4 separate regions of the Homo sapiens genome follow, and all the other regions are linked to region 2. Evidence: promoter capture Hi-C in 16 types of primary human blood cells and fetal thymus (Javierre and others, 2016). All regions are on one chromosome and are shown on one strand. The core of a region is centred on a gene start or on the middle of the fragment in contact, and the rest is flanking DNA. Distances in the headings are between cores, read along the strand shown.

The links. The method cuts DNA at HindIII sites, captures the fragments that hold promoters and counts their contacts. A CHiCAGO score of 5 or more calls a contact.
Region 1: a contact is called between a fragment that was not itself captured here and the fragment with the promoter of COL8A2 in region 2, in 1 of 17 cell types (megakaryocytes). The highest score is 5.4, in megakaryocytes.
Region 3: a contact is called between a fragment that was not itself captured here and the fragment with the promoter of COL8A2 in region 2, in 2 of 17 cell types (naive B cells and total B cells). The highest score is 6.0, in naive B cells.
Region 4: a contact is called between the fragment with the promoter of LSM10 here and the fragment with the promoter of COL8A2 in region 2, in 1 of 17 cell types (endothelial precursors). The highest score is 5.0, in endothelial precursors.

Annotation. Positions count from the first base shown.
Region 1 is chr1:35,846,086-35,850,016 of GRCh38, forward strand. The region is part of intron 15 of AGO4 (argonaute RISC component 4); the gene reads left to right. Among named protein-coding and RNA genes, the nearest start is that of AGO1, 35 kb to the right of the region's middle. RefSeq lists a silencer at 3,332-3,484. The HindIII fragment of the contact is 1,671 bases long and covers 1,510-3,180 here.
Region 2 is chr1:36,122,910-36,126,622 of GRCh38, forward strand. COL8A2 (collagen type VIII alpha 2 chain) reads right to left here and starts at 2,313. Exons shown (of 4, transcript NM_005202.4): 1 at 2,148-2,313. The HindIII fragment of the contact is 11,810 bases long and covers 23-3,713 here.
Region 3 is chr1:36,441,321-36,445,010 of GRCh38, forward strand. All of the region lies in intron 1 of OSCP1 (organic solute carrier partner 1), which reads right to left. LOC107984940 (a long non-coding RNA gene) reads left to right here. Exons shown (of 3, transcript XR_001737976.2): 2 at 3,281-3,413. Among named protein-coding and RNA genes, the nearest start is that of OSCP1, 7.3 kb to the right of the region's middle. The HindIII fragment of the contact is 1,167 bases long and covers 997-2,163 here.
Region 4 is chr1:36,395,337-36,399,402 of GRCh38, forward strand. It overlaps LSM10 (LSM10, U7 small nuclear RNA associated), which reads right to left and starts at 2,572. Exons shown (of 2, transcript NM_032881.3): 1 at 2,431-2,572. RefSeq lists enhancers at 1,717-2,429, 2,430-3,141. The HindIII fragment of the contact is 5,014 bases long and covers 1-2,964 here.

The DNA of each region.
Region 1 (3,931 bases), core at 1,095-3,594, 280 kb before region 2:
TTGGCACCAGTAATACAATCTACCACAGGCATTTCAAGCAAAGCATGTCTAAACCTTCTATTTATTGTTTTATCCCCATCCAAAACCTATTCCTCCCCAATTTTCCTTTTATTCTATTACTTGGCATCACTGTATATTAAGTCAGCCAAGCTAGAAACTTCAGAGTTGTCTTTAAATTCTTTGCCCCATTTCCAGTCCCTCCATACGCATTTAGAAAATAGTCCTCTGTGGGCCAGGTGCGGTGGCTGACACCTGTAATCCCAGCACTTTGGGAGGCTGAGGTGGGCGGATCACAAGGTCAGGAGATCGAGACCATCCTGGCTACCACGGTGAAACCCTGTCTCTACTAAAAATACAAAAAATTAGCCGGATGTGGTGGCAGGCGCCTGTAGTCCCAGCTACTCGGGAGGCTGAGACAGGAGAATGGCGTGAATCCGGGAGGTGGAGCTTGCAGTGAGCTGAGATGGCACCACTGCACTCCAGCCTGGGAGACAGAGTGAGACTCCATCTCAAAAAAAGATATATATATATATATATATATATATTTAGGGACAGGGTCTAAGTTTGTTCCCCAGTTTGGTCTTCAGCTCCTGGACTCAAGTGGTCCTCCCACCTCAGCCTCCCAAAGTGTTGGCATTACAGGCATAAGCCACCATACCTGGCCCTAGTTTTGACAAATACATACAGTTCTGTAGGCATCACCACAATAAAAATACACAGTCATCCCTCAGAATCCATGGGGGATTGGTTCCAGGACCTGCTGCAGATACCAAAATCCACATATGCTCAAGTCCCTGATATAAAATGGTACAGTAAGCAAGGCGTGGTGGTGCATACCTGTAGTCCCAGCTACTTAGGAAGCTGAGACAGTAGGATCACTTGAGTCCAGGAGTTTGAGACAAGCCTGGGCAACATAGCAAGACTCCATCTCAAAAAACAAAAATGGTATAGTAATTGTATATAACCTATGCACATCCTCCCATATGTTTTAAAACAGGGGTGTCCAATCTTTTGGCTTCCTTGGACCACATTGGAAGAAGAATTTTCTTGGGCCACACATAAAATACACTAACCATAGCTGATGGGCTAAAAAAAAAAATCACAAACAAATCTCATAATGTTTTAAGAAAGTCTACAAATTTGTTTTTGGTCTTTTTTTTTTTTTTGAGACTGAGTCTCGCTCTGTTACCCAGGCTGGAGTGCAATGGCTCAGTCTCGGCTCACTGCAACCTCTGCCTCCTGGGTTCAAGTGATTCTCCTGCCTCAGCCTCCCGAGTAGCTGGGATTACAGGCACATGCCACCATGCCCAGCTAATTTTTGGATTTTTAGTAGAGATGGAGTTTCACCATGTTGGCCAGGCTGGTCTTGAACTCCTGAGCTCAAGTAATCTGCCTGCCTTGGCCTCCCAAAGTGCTGGGATTACAGGCATGAAAGCCACTGCTCCCGGCCCAAGTTTACAAATGTGTACTGGGCCACATTCAAAGCCATCCTGGGCTGCATGTTGGACAAGCTTGCTTTAAAAGATCTCTAGATTACTTATAATACCTAATACAATGTAAAGGCTTAAATAGTTGTTATACTATATTTTAAAATGTGTATAAGTTTTTACTGTTGAATTATTTTAAATATTTTTCTAGGTTGCTTTAGTACCGAATACAGTGTAAATGCTATGTTTTATTGTTTTTAATTTTTTTCATATTAAAATTAAATTTTTAAACATGTTAACAATTTTCTGTATTTGTGTCAGGTCTTTAAAATTTATATTTTTATTTATTTTTAATTGACATAATAATTATACACATTTATGGGTTACATAGGAATTCTTATACAAATAATGTGCAGTGATCAAATCAGGGTATAATTAGAATATCCAAACCTTTTTAAAGAATATCCACAGTTGGTTGAATTCCTGAATGCAGAACCTGTGGATACCAAGGGCTGACTGTATAATAATTCTGTCATACCAAAAAATCTTCAGGTGTCCTTTTGTAGTTAACCTTTCTCCTTCACTCCCAGCCCTTGGCAACCACTGATATGTATTCTGTTCCTACAGTTTTGCTTTTTCCAGCACATCATATAAATAGAATCATAGCCCTTGAGTCTGGCATTTGAGATTCATCCAAGTTGTGTATATATCAGTAATTTGCCCCTTTTTATTGTGAGTGGTATTTCATAATGTGGATGAGCCACAGTTTGCTTATCCATTTCTGAGTTTAGGGGTATTTGGAGTGTTTCCTGTTTTTTACCCAACTTCCCTTTTCAGCTCCTACTTATAAGGCATGGCTCACCTATTTCCTCCTCATCAGCTTTTCCCAATGCTTCCCATATGCCCTTATGACATTGTGTTACAGTTTATTGTATACACTTTTCATGAAGTCAGGAAGGCAAGTTTATTAGTTCTCTTGATGCCCCTGGCTGTCATCCCCAACATCTGCTGCGGAGCCTAGCAGTCATATGGGTGCTCAAGCAATAACTGGTGAATTGAAAAGGCCTGGATTCCCTTTTCTCCAAGGCATCACCTCTTCAGGCTGTCATATGTAGAACCAGAGAGTTTTTTTTTTTTTTAAGGGTAAAATAAATTTAGAAAATGCTATATACTTTATATCCCTTTTAAAGATTATACATGACTAAATAAAGGTTTTGAGTCATACAGTAGAAAAATACTTTTAACTTTAATTTGATCCCATATTTCTCAGGTTTGTTTCACCATAAAATACCTAAACACATCCTGCAAAGCTAATATTCCTAAAGAACACACTTTGGGGAAAAAAAAATGCTAGAACCAACTAGATTTCTTCTGATCCAGCTAGGAACCCAAGATCACATATGCATTTGATGGAAGGAGATTTTTCTATACTCATAGAGTTATGTATGCATAGGTGTATGATCTTCAGCTTAAGGTAACAATAGTTAAAATGGAGCCAAATAAACTCCCATCAAATTTGTGCCTGTATGCTAAAGAAATGTGTTCATACTGAACTCTGCTGTACAGCAGAAGAGGGTGACCAAATAGCAAGATGTAATTCCTTCCCTTGTAATCCATTTCTGAAGTTCCCCTCTTGCCTTCCTAGAAATTTGATTTTCAAATTTTGTCTGTAGAGTTTTTGCTTGGAATTTTAAAAGGGTAAGAGAACATCACCTAATTTTATAGATGATTAGATTGAGGTATAAAGATAATAAGCTTTGTTCAAGGTATATAGTTGCAAGGCTAGGCCTAGATCTGAAACTGATTTTTTAGTTCCCATTTCAGTGCTTTCTTCCTGATAACCATTTGCCAGTGACTTTTTTTTTATTATTAATAAAGTATTTGTTATTGCCAGATGTGGTAGCTCGCACCTGTAGTCCTAGCACTTTGGGAGGCCAAGGTGGGAGAATTGCTTGAGCCCAGGAGTTTGAGTCCAGCCTGGGCAACAAAATTAGACCCCGTGTCTCAAAAAAAAAAAAAAAAAAAAGCCAGACATGATGGCATGTGTGCCTATAGCCCCCGCTACTCAGGAGGCTGAGGTGAAAGGATTCCTTGAGTCCAGGAGTCCAAGGTTGCAGTGAGCTGTGATCCTCCCAGTGCACTCCAGCCTGGGTGACAGAGTGAGACGCTGTCTCAAAAAAAAAAAAAAAAAAAGTACTAGTTATGTTGAACCTGGTAAACCAGTTTAAAGATTCCTTAATCTTTTACTGAAAATTGTGAATTTTTTTTACTCCAAGTAAGGAATAAAACTTTTTTTCTCAGAAAGTTTATCTATCTTAAATGTTAAATGTTTTTTCCCTTTGTGAACATACCACTGTGTCATCTGTAAATACATAATAATGTTGTAGCCCAAAGCCACGGGTAAAATATTTTTGTCCGTATCCTCCTGAAGAGATCCTGGAACATATTTGTTTGTGAAAATACTATAGGTTAAAATGGTTGGGCTAAGGGAAAGTTACAGAGGA
Region 2 (3,713 bases), core at 1,063-3,562:
ACTGTCCCTGAGAGAACCCTGAAGCTTCCCCCTCCACACCTCTGCACGAGCTGTGCCCTCAGCCAGGAACACCCTCCCATTCACCCTTTCCACCCCCTGCACCTGTCAAAATTATCATCTTCGAAAGCCCTGGCCAGATTACCTCTTAGGTGCCACCTTCCCTGATCTGCACTTTGGCTTGCATGGTGCCCCTCCTCGGGTACCTAGTAGGGCACCGTGAGACCACAGCCACACCCCAGAGGAGAGGCCGCTGTGTCTCTCTCGTTCCTCCGACCCGACACTATAATTTCCTCCTGCCACGGATGGGACCAGCGCATCTGAGACCCCACTTCCCTGTAAGAGGTGCCCCATCCCTGCCACTGAGAGTTCTGGAGCGGGCTGGGGGGCCAGCAGGGCAAGGAAGCTGGGGCTGTGCGTCCTTTGTTCCGGCTCAGGCAGGAGCAGAGAAGGTAGTGGAGTACAGGGGCTCAGGCTGACAGCCCTGCTTAGTATCTTTCTCCTCCCTCTTGCTAACAGACACATTCACTTCCATATTTTCTTTCCCCTTCCTCTGAGCCAAAGAGCGGAAATTCTCATTTTCACTGTGGTAGACGAAGTGAAACCAGAGAAAGAGACCCTGGTGAGTGTGTCTGGGTGTGAGCGTATGTGTGTGTGTGCCGTCCTGTCTGAGTATGTCTGGCTGGGCCACGTGGGGCCTGCCATGTGTCTGTAGGAGTTTGGGTGTGTGTGCATGTGTCCGCCTGTGTCTTGTGGTGGTGTATGTTTCATTAGAGGAGGGTGTCCGCATGAATCTAATGAATGTTTGGGTCGGTGTGTGACTGTGCATGGCTCTCAGAAGGGTGCAAGGCTGTGTGTGGCTGGGTGAGCATGTCTGTGGTTTCTCCTCATTATCATCTAGGGTCATTGTGTGTCCAAGGGTTTGTAGGTGTTCACCAGTCCACTGGGAAGCCAGTGACAGCACCTGTGCCCTGATGGAGACCACCAACCATGGTGTCTCTCCAGAGATCACCAACTCCTGCCCTGCGGCCCCCTCTGCTTGGGGCAGTAAGGATCAGTCGATCTTAGCTCAGTCCCCAGAGAGGAACCCCAGGCTGCCTGACCCTCCAGCCATCCAGCTCCACGGCCCCCAGATTTTTCAAATGCCCAGTACAGCTGCTGGGAGGCTGTCCTTGCCAAGGGGACTCTGCTAAGAGGAGTGGATGAGCCCCTGCTGCCAGCCTGAGCAAGAGGTACTGATAGCAGACAGGAGGGATGATTTCTGGTTGCTCCGGCACCCCTAAGGAGGTCAGCCGCACGTCTGTGTCAGGAACCCAGCATGGTCTCACACAGGCACACACACGTGCGTGCACACATACAACCAGCAAAGTTTTCCCCGTGGCAATAGCGTTCCTGGGCCCTCTGGCTGAATAGCATTTCTCTACCTGGAGGATTTCCGGGGCTAGGGTGGCTCCAGACCCAGGGCAGAGACACTGGGAGGTTGTTCTGGGGCCCTGGGACCCCAGTCCCTCTTGGCCAGGCAGCGGCCCCTCACCCCCTGCAAGTCTCAGTCTGGAGCTGGGGGGATGCTGAGCCCCTGACAGGAACATTCCTGGGAACTTGTCTTCAGTTTGGGGCGAGGGGACTGACAGGGCACCTAGAATAGGAGGAACCTGGGGGCTAAGGCAGAAAAACCTTATAACTGGAAGGTCTCCAGCAAATCAGCAATGGCAGAGAGATGGGGGCAGGAGTGAGAGCGGGGGGATGCTAAGGCCCCTCACTCCCTCCTCTCTCCTCCACTACCCTGTGAAGGCGGCTTTTTTATCCCCACTTTACAGGTGGGACGGGAGATCGGGAGGTGGTGACGCGCCCAGAGCCACATCGTCGGGGGTTGCACCCGGCACTGTCTTATGCTGGAGCCCTCGCTTCTGGGAGAGGAAGGGAGGAGGGGGCTTTACTGGGATCCTGCCGGGGAGGGAACGGGGCACAGGGAACGGGATGGGCTCCCCCATTCTAAGGCGACCCCCTGGCCCGAGTCCCCCACCGCGTCCCCACCCCGGAGTCCGAGGCGCCGGCCCTGCTATCCCGCATGGTGTTGGGGGAAGCCCAGCCCAGGTCTTGCCCTCGGAGCCCCCCAGCCCGAGCCCCGGTGCCCGCCTCCTGGCCTTTACCTGCGGGCGCGGCCGCCGGGCGCCGCTCCCGGCCCTCGAGGGCGGCCCGGGCGGCGAGGGCTCCGGGCAGGGGCGTCCGCGGCTGGGCGGGCGGCGTTGGGGTCCGGGGTCCGCGCCGGCGGGGTTCCGCGTCGCTCTGCCGGCCGCCCCTCGCGGCTGCCGGAGTGGGCGGGCGGCAGGAGGGGCGCGTCGGGGCGGGGCCTCCGCCCTCCTCTTTCCACAGCCACGGCCAAGGCCCGCGCCCCGCCCGGCCCAGCGCGCCCAGCGCGGACTCGGACGGCTGCCTCCCTCCCCGACACCCACGCCGAGCCCCCTCCACACACGCGCTCCCGGGCGGCCCGCCCCCATCCCTCCCCGTCCACCTGACCCGCGGCTCGGCCGCCGGGGAGTCCGCGCAGCCCCTGCCCTCGAGGGGCCACCTGCCTGTGGGGACGGACGCGGCTGCTGAGAAGGACGGCCAGGCGTGGTCCTGCAGGGAAGGGGCAGCTCGGGCTGGTGGCCCCCAGTGAGGAGTCCCCAGAAGGCTGCCTGCAGACGTGACCTCGGTAGGCTGAGCCCGGAGGACTCACAGGGGCCAGTCGTGACCCGCACATTCAGGCTTTAGGGCATTGAGCCGGGGTCACAGAGGCAGGCGGGAGCAGGCCAGACCTCGTCCCTCGGAAATGGGGAGTCACGGAAGGCTCTGGAGCAGGGCAGTCACGTGGTCAGATGTGTGCTTTGGAAAGAGCCTCCCGAAGCTGTGTGGAGGAAGATAGAGGCAGGCCACCGAGGAGGCTGCGGGAATACCCTGGCATGGTCCCATGAGGTGCACAGTGAGGGGGAAGGAAAGGGAGGGCCCAGTGTGAGGGGAGTGAGGAGGCGAACTAGGCAGAGTTTGGGCGAGGGGCCTAGGAAGAAGCAGTGTCAAGGACAGTGCGCAGGCTTTGGGCTAGGCCTGGGGGCGGCAGGGTCTAGGAGAAGAAGGAGGACGGATGTAATGAATTGGATGAGCCTGTGGGACTTCCATGGATCCGGAAGGGAGGTGAGAGTTCTGGGATAGCGAGGAGGAATCCACGGTTTGCAGATGGCGACTGATGCCATAGAATAAGGAGCGGGCCCAGGGAGGCGGGCAGGGCGCGGGCAGGACACTCATCAGCATTCACGGGGCTGCCCAGGGAGAGGGGTCGGCAAAGGAGACTGAGAAGATGGCAGGGACCGGGAGAGCAGTGTCCCAGAAGGCAAAGGCAGAGTGCTTCTAGAAGGCCAGGGAGGCCCACGGGATGGGCTGTCACAGAAGGACATTCTTAGGGACAGCAATTAAGGGTTGGAGGTTGGGGTGGGGGTAGGGGCAGTAGCCAGGCAGCAGGGGAGAAAGGAGGAGGCAGCAAGTGCAGAGGGAAGGGGAGATGAGGTCAGGAAAGGATTTTGGGGTGTGTGTGTGTGTGTGTCTGTGTGCGTGTGTGCATGTAGGTGAGTGTGGGTGTCTGTGTGTGCATGTAGGTGGGTGTGGGCGTGTGTGTGCGTGCATGTGTGTGTGCGCGTGCCTGTGTGTGTACGTGTAGGTGGGTGTGTGTGTGTGTGTGTGCA
Region 3 (3,690 bases), core at 330-2,829, 320 kb after region 2:
GGTTGAGGCAGACCTATTAGGTACCAGACAGTGAAATAAACACCACAGGCACAAAGAGGAAGGAGATGTTATCCTGGCCCTAGAGAAGCAGCACATCATCTTTAGGTTAAACCTGAGAAATAGTTTTTTTAAAAAATTTAATTAGCGTACGGGCGCGGTGGCTCACGCCTGTAATCCCAGCACTTTGGGAGGCCGAGGCGGGCGGATCACGAAGTCAGGAGATCGAGACCATCCTGGCTAACGCTGTGAAACCCCGTCTCCACTAAAAAAAAATACAAAAAATTAGCCGGGCGTGATGGCGGGCGCCTGCAGTCCCAGCTACCGGGAGGCTGAGGCAGGAGAATGGCGTGAACCCGGGAGGCGGAGCTTGCGGTGAACCGAGATCGCGCCACTGAACTCCAGCCTGGGTAACAGAGCGAGACTCCAGCTCAAAAAAAAAAAAAAAAAAAAAAGTAATTTGTTTTTTATTTTTTTCCCTTCATCCTAACATCCCTGAAGAAATAGTTTTAATCAGACCCGCCCATTAGTCTAAGTGTTGGTTTTTGGCATGCAAATGAGTTCTGCATACTTTTCACGAGGCCGGAATATACTAGGAGCCGGATTTCAATAGGAAGAGGCTAAGGGGGGCCGGGCGCAGTGGCTCACGCCTGTAATCCCAGCAGTTTGGGAGGCCGAGGTGGGTGGATCACCTGAGGTCGGGAGTTCAAGACCAGCCTGACCAACATGGAGAAACCCCATCTCTACTAAAAATACAAAATTAGCCAGGCGTGGTGGCTCATGCCTGTAATCTCAGCTACTCAGGAGGCTGAGGCAGGAGAATTGCTTGAACCTGGGAGCGGAGGTTGTAGTGAGCTGGGATCGCTCCATTGCACTCCAGCCTGGGCAACAAGAGCGAAACTCCGTCTCAAAAAAAAAAAAAAGGAGGCTAAGGCAGGGGAGGGAAGGGATTTTTCACAGGAGCCTCAGAAAGTTGGTAATTGGGTTCTCAACATAGCAAGCTTCTAGTCCTGGGTTCAGATTATGAAGCCAGTTTCTGTTCATTATTTTTGAACATTTATGTTAAAATAAATTTCAATGATTCAATTATGTATATGAAAAGCTCTCAAAATCCACACTTCATACCTGAAATTCTGCTATGCATCAAGGGAGGGACGGGTCAAAAATTGCTCAAGAAGTGTCAAACGATGGTTGTGAAATGTAATAAAGTGTACCAAGTACTTCAATTGGGCTTTTTTTCGAGACTGGTCTGATGAAATAATTATCTTGATGAAAGCAATCAAGTTTTTACCAATTACCTCTGCTCTAAATTGACTTGTTTATGGGAATATGAAATTTGGAGCCAAGAATTTAGAGAGAGGCTAGGAAACCCTCCTGAATAGTTACCATGTTTCAATCCTTTCTATGTCCCAGGCACTGGGCTTAGAACTTTATATGCATTATCTCATTTAAACTCCAAGACAACTCTGAATTATTATCCTCATTTTTTTTTCCTGCCAGACCACTTATCGTTTTATATTATCCTCATTCTATTAAGGAGGAAAACTGAATCAGAGAGTTTAAAGTCCAAGGTCACACAGCTGGTGATGGAGCTGAAATTAGAATTAGGTCTGTTTGATTTAATGCCTGTGCTTTTAAATATTATTATTATTATTATTATTTTTGAAGTGGAGTCTCGCTCTGTCGCCCAGGCTGGAGTGCAGTGGCAAGATCTCGGCTCACTGCAACCTCTGCCTCCCAGGTTCAAGTGATTCTCCTGCCTCAGTCTCCCAAGTAGCTGGGATTATAAGTGCCCACCACCATGCCCAGGTAATTTTTGTATTTTTAGTAGAGACAGGGTTTCACCATGTTGGCCAGGCTGGCCTCGAACTCCTGACCTCAAGTGATCCTCCTGCCTCAGATTCCCAAAGTGCTGGGATTACAGGTGTGAGCCACTGCACCTGGCCTCTTAAATATTATACAGGTTGTCTTCCCAGCATACTTGGTGTGGTGAGAGCATTTAAAATATTGAGGAGGATGGCTGATGATAGGCACACACCACACCCAAATGTCAAATGACAGAAGGTATCTGAGATTTATTTAAAGGCTGAGAAAGTCTAAGGCTTTATTCTGAGGAGTCGACAACTTTTTCAGGTTTCCTGCTTGCAGTAGGTAAGGGGAAACTGAAGCTTTTGCATGATGAGGCCACACTGCATGCATGATGTCATGCCTTCTGCCCACAGTCCTGGCAGCCATGCAGTTACATGCTTCAATTTTTCTCGGTTGCTCTGTGAGCTTAGGAGAATGGCTCAGGGAGGGTCACTCATGTTGAAGCACAATTCTTTGGTTACATGACAAAACAAAGTTGTTTTAAGGACTACCAAATAGGATGACATACCCCAAAGTATGGCTATTGCCCCAGCTGTCCCAGCAAAGCTTGGAACTGAGAAAAGGAGACATATCCCTCAAGTACAGTGTGGCTTTTTGGTCAGAGTTTGCTTAGTTTTCATCTTAACATGCTGTATTTCTTCCTCTTAAGTAAAAGATTCAAATGTATAACCAATATCTCAGCTAAAGACAAACTCATGCCTATTTTCTTACTTTGACTTTGAAATGTTTCAAGCGGTCCCATTTTAAGCCCTGCTGATAAAGGCCTGAGTGAACCTGTGGATGCACACTGAACACATGCAGCCCGGAGATAGCATACCTCGTTTTCTGTCCACCTCTGTCCATTCATCTACATGAAGCATACAAAAAGAAAACACCAGTTCATGAAGCAAGAACATTATTTTCAAGGAGGCTTTAAACATACCAATTCCAATGATCTTATCTATGAAACTTTACTTTTCACGTTGGCATTTAATGTCTAATGTGAGCACACTGCCTTCTATTTGAAACCTTTAAAAGGATGATGGATAAACAACATATTTCAAAAAAGCTCAAGAAAGGCTATGTCTTACAGAGACTGGCCTAAGAAGAGAGTAAACTGAGGAGGATTAGCTATCCTGTGGTTCATCTTGAAAGGCCCAAGAAGCCCCGCTCTCTAATGCTACAAGAATACATATCATTCAGTAGTAGGCTTTTAAAGACGCTAGCCTCCATGAGGAAGAATAATTCCAAGAACAGGCAGAGAAAAGAGTTTCTTTGTATACAATCTGAGTTTTCTTTTCTTTTCTTTTTTTTTTATTAATGTAAGATTTCCCTTTCTAGAGGACAGATGGAACTGCTCAAATTAGAAAACTTGAAATGTGAATTAAAAGGAAAATGTCAGCATTTGTTTCTGTTTTACTTTTTATATATATAGATGCATGATTTCCATGTAAAAAGAAGCGAATAATGATGGGACCACTATGAAGAAAGCTTCTGAGGACAAAGGCAGCTGGGGAGATCCCAAGAGGAGACCAAATAAGGAAAAATGCAGTTGGCTAGAGAAATCGGTGAGAATCAAGACTCTATGGGTTGAAACCTGGCTCTACTTACTGGCTATATAAACTTCAAGCAACTTGTTTAACCTCAGTTTCCTTCGTAAAATAGGGATCATAATAGCACCTATCTTACAGGCCTATTGTGGGGATAAAGCATAACACACATCAAATACTTAGCTGGCTTCCCTTTGAGTTCTGTTTCCTCTACTGAGGGACATTAGACACCACCCATAAAGGATGGAAGATGACTTTTTTCCTTTCCTTAATTTTTGATGGAGATTTCAATCTA
Region 4 (4,066 bases), core at 1,322-3,821, 270 kb after region 2:
AATTATTAGGACTAACAACAAAAGTCTGTATCATTCCTAATAATACATTAATTTTAAAAAATCAATAACTTTAAAAAAAGAAAAATATGGCTAGGAGAGGTAACTTGCCCAAGGTCACAGTAAATAAGTGGAATTGCTGGAATTCAAATCCGTAGCCACAGGCCGGGCGTGGTGGCTCCCCGCTGTAATCCCAGCACTTTGGGAGGCCAAGGTGGGTGGATCACTGGGGCTAGGAATTCAAGACCAGCCTGGCCAATATGGTGAAACCCCATCTCTACTAAAAATACAAAAATTAGTCGGGCATGGTGGTGAGCACCTATAATCACAGCTGCTCCGGAGGTTGAGGCAGGAGAATCGCTTGAATCCGGGAGGTGGAGGCTGCAGTGAGCCAAGATCACGCCACTGCACTCCAGCCTGGGTAACAGAGAGACTCTGTCTCAAAAAAAAAAAAAAAGAAAATCCATAGCCGTCTGGCTCCAAACCTCACACCAGGTGTGCATTAGAATCATCTGGTGAGTTTTTAACCCAACCTCCCCACCCCAGAGATTCTGATTCGTTTGGTTAGAGGGGTGGGCCCAGGTATCCTATTTTGTAAAAGCTCCCGGCTGGGCGCGGTGGCTCACGCCTGTAATCCCAGCACTTTGGGAGACCGAGGCGGGCGGATCATGAGGTCAGGAGATCAAGACCATCCTGGCTAACATGGTGAAACCCCCATCTCTACTAAAAATACAAAAAAATTAGCCAGGCGTGGTGGCGGGCGCCTGTAGTCCCAGCTACTCGGGGGGCTGAGGCAGGAGAATGGCGTGAACCTGGGAGACAGAGCTTGCAGTGAGCTGCAAGTGGAGTGCCACTGCACTCCAGCCTGGGCAGCAGAGTGACTCCATCTCAAAAAAAAAAAAAAAAAAAAAAAAAAGAAAGCTCCCCAGATAACTCCAAAGTGCTGAGGGGTACTGGTTAGAAATGCGCAATCTCAGGTCTCTCCCCAAGCCTGTTCTGAGATAAAATCCACTCCTTCACTGAGTGGCTCACTGCCATCTTCCACGCTGGCTGGAAACAGACTGCATTTTAACATGACCCCCTACGTGAATTAGATACACGTTAAGGTTTGAGAATCATTGGTTGACACCAGTAGTTCTCAAACATTAGTGTGTATCAGAATCATCTGAGGGGCTTGTTAACTCAGCTTGCTGGGCCCCACTCCCAGTTTGACTCAGGTCTGAGGTGAGGCCCAGAGATAAAGTCATTTTGAACATGTTCCCAGGTGATGCTGATGCTGCTGGTCAGGGGCCCACACTCTGGGAACTATTGGTCTACACCATGCAGCTGTTATGTAAGTAGAAATTAAGGTAATGAGGCCGGGTGCAAGGGCTCACGCCTGTAATCCCAGGATTTTGGGAGGCCAAGGCGAGTGGATCACCTGAGGTCAGGAGTTCAAGACCCGCCTGGCCAACATGGTGAAACCCAGTATCTACCAAAAATACAAAAATTACCTGGGCATGGGCGCACCTGTAATCTCAGCTACTTGGGAGGCTGAAGCAGGAGAATCGCTTGAACCCAGGAGGCAGAGGTTACAGTGAGCCAAGATTGTGCCACTGCACACCAGCCTGGGTGACACAGCGAGACTCTCAGAAAAAAAAAAAGAAAATAAATCTGGATAATGAATTGGGGAAAAAAACCCCCAACCGGTATTATATAAGGTACATAGGTTTTGAAGGTAGAGAAACCTAGGTTGGAATCCCCACTCCACCCCTAATTATGAAAACCTAGAAAAGTTAATGTCTCTGAACCTGTTTCCACATTTATTAAACTACAGGAGAAACAAAGCTACCAGAATCACACTCCACTAAAGGTACTCTCCTTTGATTTCAACATGCCCTGATAATGTATTAGTGCACTATGTCTTACCTATCCCTTATTTTCAGACCTGAGTTAAAGGGGGTGGAACGCTCTCTCTTTACGACCTCACTCAGCATCCCGTCCAGGGCTGTGCATTGTGGCACTGAGCGTGGCAAGCCAGACTAGGCCAGTGACGAGGGGGCCTGGGAGCTAGGTCCCTGGGCATGGCCTAACGACCAGCCACCCGGCTGCAGCCTGATGAATCTGCGATCAAGCAAAGGTATGGGGCTGCTGCTGCGACTGCAAAGAGCAGTCACCGGACCTCGAGTCAGGCCCGGGTTCTAGAACAGGCTTTGCCACCTCCTAGGAGGGCGATCACTTAGCAAACCACTTAGCTTCTCCAAGCTAGCTAAGCTACCGGTAAAACGGGATGAGCACCGCTTACTCAGAGCAGCGGGAGCGGGTCTGGGGAAAGGAGCTATACTCGGTAAATGGGGAAGAAAACGCTTCCTGGGCTCCGGCACCTCCTTCCGGAGGTCCTGGCATCCCCCGCATTCCGCCCCGGGGCTCCCTGCACCGCCGACCCGGACCCACCACGCGACATTCCTTCCGCTTTCCCCGTCTGGGTCGCCGCCGAAGCTAGCGGGCGCCTGGACTGGCTGCCTCCCGCCGGCTGCAGCAGGACGGAGAAACCATGCCGGCGACCGGGCCGCTCTGTCCTCCGGGCGCAGAGTGCGTCAGTGCTCTGCAAGTCACCGCGTCACGGAGAAACTACAATCCCCAGAATGCTTCGCGGCGCGGGGCTCGTGCTCCGCAAATCCCGGCCTGCGTCATTGGAGTCTCTTTCACTAGAGTCGTTCATTCATTCCGCACGCATTCATTGAACCGGCGACCTGGGCCAGGCTCCTTCCCAGGCTCCGGCATGGAGCAGTGACCAAGATCAAGTGGCTCCCTGAGCTGATGGCGCTGCAGGGGAGAGAGTCTTAAGAAAACAAAGAAGAAAAATAGGGAAAAATTTCTTCAGAAGATTAAAGGTGTGATGTGATGGTGACAAGGTGGTCTTTTATTGGATTGTCAGGGGTGCCCTGAGAAGGTGACATTTGAGTTGAGATTAGTGACATGAAGCCAAGCTTGTGAAAACTATGGGAGGAGCATTGCAATTAGCGGGAACAGTTTGTTAAGTAAAATTTATAGGAGGCAGGGCCGGGTGCAGAGGCCCACACCTGTAATCCCAGCACTTTGGAGGACAAGGCGGAAGGATCACTGGAGCCCAGGAGTTCGAGACCAGTCTGGGCAACAATGGGGAGACCCTGTCTCTACAAAAAATAGAAAAAATTAGCCCACCGTGGTGGCGTACACCTCTGGTCCCACCTACTTGGGAGGCTGAGGCAGGAGAATTGCTTGAATCCAGGAAGTGGAGGCTGCAGTGAGCTCAGAAAGTAACACTTCATTCCAGCCTGGGCAACAGAGCAAGACTCCGTCTCAAAAAAAAAAAAAAATTGGAGGCCATTGGTTTGAACAGGGCTCCTGCACCAAGCCCAACAGAACCAAAATGGAGTCACTCATGCTAAAGTTCTACATCACCAAGTGGAAACTAAGTTGTTTATCTGATATTCCGATAAATCAGAAGAGTGAGAGATAGCTAGATCTCCAAACCATCCTGTTTTAGCTGGCAGGATAAGGAAGTCCCCTCTGCTTTAGCCTTCAAAGTTACAAGGAAAGTAACTTTGAAACAACCAATCTTTTTGTTTTCTGTTTCTGCTTTCCTCAGCCCTTTTCTGGCTGTAAAACCAATCTCCTCTGCTCAGCTCATTTGAACACTCATTCCATTTTATAGAATGAAGTGTTGCCCGATTCTAGAGTTGCAAATAAAAGTCAGATTTAACAAATTTGGCAAAAAAAAGTCAAATCACCAATTAAAAGTTAAATTTTTTCTTTTCACAGTTCATGCAAAGAACCTGGGGGAAATGACCTTGACAATTTAGGAACACAGGAAAGGCCAGGGAAGCTGGGGAGAGTGGTATAACAAGAGGCCAGAGAGGAAGCAGGAACCAGAGCATATAGGGCTTTGTGAGCCAAGGTAAGGAGTTTAGATTTCATGGTTAGGAGTGCAGCCTCCGGATACAGTGCCTAGGTTCAAATCTACTCCTGGCTAATTGTGACTTTGGGCAAGTTAGTATCTTCTCTGTGCCTCAGTCTTCTCATCTAGTACTAGAAGTGCTATGACAGG